2 separate regions of the Homo sapiens genome follow, and region 2 is linked to region 1. The links are contacts of gene promoters, found by promoter capture Hi-C in human tissues and cell types (Jung and others, 2019). All regions are on one chromosome and are shown on one strand. The core of a region is centred on a gene start or on the middle of the fragment in contact, and the rest is flanking DNA. Distances in the headings are between cores, read along the strand shown. Region 1 holds the start of CTRC (chymotrypsin C). Region 2 overlaps KAZN (kazrin, periplakin interacting protein).

Region 1 (3,655 bases), core at 851-3,350:
CCGCCACACGTATGCCTCCACGTGTCGTTCTTGAGGTACTGGAGGGAGATCTGCAGGAGGGTGGGGAGGGCTGTGTGTCAGCCTGCAGGTCCCTGGGACCCTCACCCCGCCACCCTCTCTATCTGTACCTCCCAGCCCTACACAGGCTTACCTGCCAGGGCCAGCTGTGGGGCCGGGCATCCTCTCCTCCCACCACTCGGGCGGATAGGTTGGGCGGGAAGCTGGGCACCCCACAGCTGGAGGCTGGGGAGACAGGAGGCCAGAAGAACCAGTGAATAGGGCTGGTAGCCCACGGGGAAAGGGGTGGGAGGGTGGGCAGGTGGAAGAAGCACAGAGTTGGGGCTGGGCAGACACGGGGTTGATATTTTACTGTGTCACGGGGGTAAGCCACCCAGGTCTCTAGGCCTTGTTTTCCCTTTCTGTGAAATGTGAAGAATCACACTAATGCGGTGAGTTTGCCCTGAGAACTGAATTAGACAACACATAAAAAAGAAAGCGTTTGGCCGGGCACGGTGGCTCACACCTGTAATCCCAGCACTTTGGGTGGCCAAGGCGGGTGGATCGCTTGAGATCAGGGGTTTGACACCAGCCTGGCCAACATGGCGAAACCCTGTCTCTACTAAAAATACAGAAATTAGCCAGGCGTGGTGGTGCATGCCTGTAATCCCAGCCACTCAGGAGGCTGAGGCAGGAGAATCGCTTGAGCCTGGGAGATGGAGGTTGCAGTGAGCCGAGATCGTGCCATTGCACTCCATCCTGGGTGATAAGAGCAAAACTCCATCTCAAAAAACAAAACAAAACAAAACAAAACTGGCTGGCATGTGTGCGAGTGCCCGGTACACCTGTGTTCTTCTGTCTGTTTTTAGGCCCCTGCATCATGGTGTGTGTGTGAGAGAGCAGTAAATCCACTGTTATAGCTGGGAAGCTGTGTGGAGCGGTCAAGAACACGTGCTGTTCCGCGAGACAGACGTGGACTCAAATTCTGCCTCTTCCACTAACCTGCCATGTGATGTCAGGCAAGATACTAAGTCGCACGGAACCTCGATGTCCTCATCTGTAAAATGGGGCTATGAAAAGACCCTACCTCTTTTTCTTTCTTTTTCTTTTTTTTTTTTTTTTGAGACGGAGTTTCACTCTTGTTGCCCAGGCTGGAGTTTGATGGCGCGATCTCGGCTCACTGCAACCTCCTCCTGGGTTCAAGCAATTCTCCTGCCTCAGCCTTCTGAGTAGTTGGGATTACAGGTGCCCGCCACCACGCCTGGCTAATTTTTGTATTTTTAGTAGAAACGGGGTTTCATCTTGTTGGCCAGACTGGTCTCAAACTCCTGATCTCAAGTGATCCACCCACCTCGGCCTCCCAAAGTGCTGGGATTACAGGCGTGAGCCACCATGCCTGGCAATAGACCCTACCTCTTAAGGTTGTTTTGAGGATTAAATTGGCTCCTACATGTAAGGGGCCTAGCATAGCGTCTGGCACATAGTAAACACACAGGAAACAGGAGCTGCTATTATTACTGTTGTTGTTGTTAGCTGGAAGGACTCTTCATTAAGTGCTCTCCTTTGCCAAAAAAGTTAGTGAGATTTAGAGAGGTGAAATGACTTTTCCAGGTCCTGCAGAGAAGAAGTGGCATTTAAGCTAAGTCCCTGGGCTCCTAATCTGGGAAAACGCCACCAAAATGATGGAATGGAGAATCCTCAAGGGAGAGAGAATGCTGGGAAAGGCAGACCCCGATGGTCCCTGGGGTGAACCCAGGATGAGGCATCTCGTGTCCCTCCCCCTTGCGTGGTGCTTTCCACACCTCATTTCTAACTGGGGACACGTCAGATCATCTTCCCTGTTTTGCAGATGTGGAAACAGAGTTGGCAGGCAGGCTGTGGCTTGTCTGACACACAGCTGGTTGGTAGCATCTGAACCCACAGGGGACCCCAAAGTGTCTTACCTGGAGAGCAGAGGCCCCCCCACTCCCCATCCCGTCCTTGCCCTGGAGGCCAGCCCGAGCTCACAGCCTGCTAGCTGCAGCCCCACCCCACCGCTTACCACAGGCCAAGAGCGCAGCGAGGACAGTGATGCCCAACATGGTTAGGTGCTCAGGACTGGCTGACCATCGGGATGGGCTGGGGCACACTTATAGGCAGGAGCAGGTGAGTGCACCTGGTCAAGGCCAAACCGCCCCTTGGAGAGAAACCTGCTCTGATAAGGCCCTTTCCCTGACCTTGGGTGGTTACTGTTTAATTTGGGCAGGAGACAGGGCTTTCTTAGAAGTATGGATTTTCCAAATATCCTGAAACAGAAAATTCTGAGTTGCAGTGCTTTTTGGCATCCCCCACCCCACTCTGTTTGACGTGTGTGTTCATTCTCTCTCCCTACCTTATACTATTTATTTATTTATTTGGAGATGGAGTCTTGCTCTGTTGCCCAGGCTGAAATGCAGTGGCACAGTCTCAGCTCACTGCAACCTCCACCTCCCGGGCTCAAACGATTCTCGTGCCTTAGCCCCCTGTGTAGCTGGGACTACAGGCGCCTGCCACCACGCCAGGTTAATCTTTTGTATTTTATTTATTTTTTTGAGACAGGATCTTGCTCTGTCACCCAGGCTGGAGTCTCAGCTCACTACAACCTCCGCCTCCCGAGTTCAAGCGATTCTCCTGTCTCAGCCTCCCAAGTAGCTGGGACTACAGATGTGTGCCACCATTTTTTTTTTTTTTTTTTTTTTGTATTTTAGTAGAGACAGGGTTTCACCCTGTTGCCTAGGGTGGTCTTGAACTCCTGAGCTTAGGCAATCTGCCTACCTCAGCCTCCCAAAGTGCTAGGATTACAGGTGTGATTACAGGCCGTTACCTTATTCTTTTTAGTTATTTATTGGGCACCTACTGTGTGTCAGGCATTGCGCTCAATTCTTCTTGCATTATCTCACTTAATTCTTCCAACAACATGAAATAGACGCGGTTATCTGCTCTGAGGTGAGATGAGAAAGGACCAGGCGCAGTGGTGCATGCCTGTAGTCCCAGCTACTCCTGAGGCCAAGGTAGGAGGATCGCTTGAGCCCAGGAGTTCGAGGCTGCAGTGAGCCGTGATCGTGCCACACTGCATTCCAGCGCGGGTGACAGAACAAGACCTTGTCTCTAAAAAAATAAAATAAAAGTGAGGAAGCTGAGACTCAGCGGGTAAGTGACCATCTAGGGTCACACGGCTGGGCAGCAGCAGAGCCAGACTTTGAAGCCAAAGCTTCTAACACCAGCCTGGGGCTTCAAGCTGTGGAGACATGCTGCTCCTTCTCTGCCTTTCTAGTGCTATTGGATCGCTTCCTGGCTCTCTCTCTGTCTCATCTTTCTAATTGCCTGGGCTTGATGCACTCCTGCACCTGCCTCCAGGGCTGTGGTTGGAGGCAGGGATGCAGCAGGCTCTGGAAGGTGCTTAGTTGGCCAGATTCCTTCCTGGAGTCAGCTTAGTTGTAGGTCCTCAGTTTCCCCATCTCTAAAATGGGCAAAAGGACCAGATGGACTTTCAGGCTCCTTTCAGTTCTACAATTCTGTAACTTGAATGTCAAGGTCAGTGGCAGATCTGAGGGCCCAAAGCACTGAGTAGCAGAAATTCTACCAGAGCCTCCGGCATTCGGGGTTGGCCATCCCTTGGAACATGTGGTTTGATCCATTC
Region 2 (3,655 bases), core at 523-3,022, 330 kb after region 1:
ATACCCATACATATACACACACATAAACATTAAGCTCTGAGTAACAATAGAAAGAGTAATTGCTACAATTACATCTTACTGTGGCCAAAGGCTTTGGGGACACAGACGTGGTTGGAGTTCCTGCTCAGCTATTCCCTCCATATGTTCTGGTGCGAGTAAAACACCTTACTGGGCCTCAGTTTCCTCATCTGTACGATAAAGTCCAGTAAGCAGCCCTGATCTTTTTTTTCCTCTGAGCGAGGGTCTCGCTCTGTTGCCCAGGCTGGAGTGCAGTGGTGCAATCTTGGCTTACTGGGCTCAGGTGATCCTCCCACCTCAGCCTCACAAGCAGTTGGGACTACAGGTGCACGCCACCACACCCAGCTAATTTTCGTATTTTTGGTAGAGACCGGGTTTTGCCATGTTGCCCAGGCTAGTCTCCAGCTCCTGGGCTCAAGTGATCTACCGGCCTCGACCTCCCAAAGTGGTGTGATTACAAGTGTGAGCCACCGTGCCTGGCCAGCCCTGGTCTTAACAAGCTACCCTATGCACAGAAAGTGGTTGTCTTTCTGTAGACAAAGGAATACGGGGTGACCTTGGCCTCCAGTGTGCCAAAATATCCTCCCTCCTTATTTTTTCCACAGTGGCTGAAATCCCCCCATCTAGGCCTTTGGATAAGATGAAAACACGAAAACTCCAGGGCATAAGCCAAGCACAGGGCCAAGGTCTTTGGAAGCTTTGAACCGACCTATTAAGTATTTCTAGTCACTTAGACCTCGAGGAAATGGTACGTTAGAAGGGGAACTTTTGATGAGGGAACGTTATGGAGAATGGGGCATCTCACTGGACTCTCCTGAGTCAATGTAGAGAACCCTGGGCACTAAATAGGCATCATGGTGCAGGAAGGAAGGTTGGGGGTTGGGAGTCAGCCTCCACCAGGTGGGCCAGCCCGAGCATTGAGTCTCAACCCATTAACCAAGGATTTACAAGGGCAGAGAGGCACAAGATGCTGTGCTGGAGAAAATGAATGGGAAGGAAAGAGTACTCGAGGGCCACCCACTACGTGCTGGGCACACTGTCAGCTCCTCACCACGGTGGCTCAGCAAACCCTCTGCAAAGCCCTGGGAAGAAGGAGTGATCATCCCCATTGCAAGCTGAAAAAACCGTGGCTCAGAGAGGGTAAATTTCTTGTCTAAAATCACACGATGATGGCGGAGGAGCCAGAATGTGGCCTCAAAGGCCCCGCTGGGTCCCATTGCACACAGGCCCACGCCTCTGGGCACTCAGCTGACCCAGTGCCTGGAGTTTGGGCTCACATTTCAGGGATGGTTTGAGGGTGGGGTGGGACAGAATCTCATCTAAGCTCAATGTGTCCTTCCACCCCCATTCCAGCGGCCTGCTGAGTGACCAGAGAATAAATGTTTTCCATTGCCAATGTCTTGGGAAGCCTGTCAGCCGAGGAGGTGGGACAGGTGACAAGGTTCTCTCATTCTATGTGTTTGAGGGTCAAGTCTATTTGAGTTTGTAATGGAATTGTTCTTCTCCATTGAAATGCTAATGAGAACGCTGGAGCAAACTGACAGAAGGGGACTCCTATGCAGCTACTCCAGAGGAAATTGACTGCATGGAGATTCTTCTGCCTCCAGATGAAGGCAGGGGCAGAAGCTCTCAGTTACTGCCGGGCATCTATGTATCAAGCAGGCTGCATACAATTTGCCTCACTGAACCTTTGGAACAAAGCTACAAGGTCGGTATGAGTCATATTCCCCTATTACAGAGGAAGAAACTGAGGCTCAGAGAGTAAAACCTAAAACCACTAGCTCATGTTCAACACAGCAAGAAAGCAGTGATGCTGGGGCTCGAAACCACATTGCAGCCATTGCCCTGCAGAGGAGGAATGGGAGGCAGCGGTGGTGGGGCTAGGGGTGGGTTTGGAATAAATCACTAATATTTATATTATTGGGTGTCTTATGATGTACTGGTTCCTTTGCCAATTGCTTTATGCATTGTCTTATCTCATCTTGCCATCAACTCTTTGGGTGGCAGATAGTGATTACCATACTCATTTTACAAATGAGGAAAGTACAGTTCAGAGAGGTTAAGTAACTTGCCCAGGGTCACACAGCCAGGATTGGTGCTGCTGGGATTTGAACTTGGGTTGCCTGGGGCTAGAGTGCCACAAGGCATTCTGGATGGGTTTATGTCTTCACCTAGTTGTCTATGAAACCAGTTTCTTGCCTGGATGGGAGCCAAAGCCTTTCTTGGATGAGCAGAGACCCTCAGAGATCTATTAAAAAAGGGAAAGAGAGAAAACCTGGAGTGGAAGCAGGCCCTGGGCTGGAACTCCACACCATCCACCTATGAGGTCTTCTCCCATCTCTGTAAGCTTCGTGAAGGCAGGACATGGATCACCCAAGTGCCTGCTCACAGCAGGTGTTCAATGACTGTGGAGGGTGGCTTTTATGGCAAAAGGGGCACTATTCTAGCTTAGATCCCAGGGGAGAGAGATCAGTTCCAGAAAGAGCTTCTGACTAGGAGTAGAGACCTGGGTTCCAGTCCTGCTCTGGTTCCAGTCCTGCTCCTTTGTGTGTCCTGTCCCTGACTCTGTTTTAGTGACAGGCCATATTGCCTTCAAGGCATATTTTTTTTGTTTGTTTTGACTCCTCCGATCCCCTGGCAGCTGCCTTTGGGTACCTCTGCTCCTTGCTGCATCCTTCCTGCCCACTGGTTTTATTCTCCAGGTCCTTAAAGAACAGTCCTATGACTGACACATTGTTGGCGCCGGACCAAGGTTTATCGGGAGATGCAGGAAGTCAGTGTGTGTCAAAGCAGATACCATGAGACCATGGCAGAGACTTCTCCTTGGCGCCTTTGGGTCATGTGCATTGTCAAAGTTGTGGGAAGAGACTAGAGATGACGTCATATTGGGACCCATAAGCTCTTGGTGAATGTGGAGCCTGGACAGAGTCATTTCCCTCTTATCTTATCATTGAGAGGTTCATTGATTTCGTCTCATTCTTGAAGAAGTCCCTGCCCCACCACAACATAAGAACCCACCCTATTTGTCCCCACCAGTCCCTTCTCTGGTGCTCCCTGACTAGTCTTAGTCCTGAACACACCTGTCACCTCATGAGTGGTCAAGAGTTTAATCAGATACACAAATGCCTGCTAATATTCAGCTAGAGCCATCTCTCCAGGGCTCAGAAAAAAGTTTGTTACAGATCATGTGGCTCCAGAAGGGAAGTCAGGGAAAGGGGATAATTCTGAGGAGAAAAGGCTTTTTCCTGTGTCTTTTGATTCATGGCTCCTGGAGGAGGGTTTTGTTTTGTTTTTCTGTTTTGTAGAGATGGACCCTTGCTCTGTTACCCAGGCTGGAGTACAGTGGCATAATCATAGCTCACTGCAGCCTCACACTCCCGGGCTCAAGTAATCCCCAGCCTCAGCCTCCTGAGTAGCTGGGATTATATGGTGCACTCCACCACCTCCAGGGAATTTTTTTAATTTTTAGTAGAGAAAAGGTCACGCTATGTTGCCCAGGCTGATCTTGAACTCCTGGACTCAAGCAATCCTCCTGCCTCCGCCTCCTAAAGTGCTGAGATTGCAGGCATGAGCCACCATGCCTGGCCTAAAACAGAGTTCTTATCAAACATTGTCTCTGTAAGAAGCACCCCAAAAT

Evidence for each region. Contacts are between HindIII fragments. The study calls those that stand out against the background at their distance.
Region 2: a contact is called between a fragment that was not itself captured here and the fragment with the promoter of CTRC in region 1, in 1 of the 25 tissues and cell types used here (dorsolateral prefrontal cortex).

What each region holds. Positions count from the first base shown.
Region 1 is chr1:15,436,888-15,440,542 of GRCh38, reverse strand. CTRC (chymotrypsin C) reads right to left here and starts at 2,100. Exons shown (of 8, transcript NM_007272.3): 1 at 2,039-2,100; 2 at 152-243; 3 at 1-50. The coding sequence starts at 2,078. The HindIII fragment of the contact is 5,601 bases long and covers 1-3,655 here.
Region 2 is chr1:15,105,948-15,109,602 of GRCh38, reverse strand. The region is part of intron 13 of KAZN (kazrin, periplakin interacting protein); the gene reads right to left. Among named protein-coding and RNA genes, the nearest start is that of TMEM51-AS1, 45 kb to the left of the region's middle. The HindIII fragment of the contact is 5,129 bases long and covers 1-3,655 here.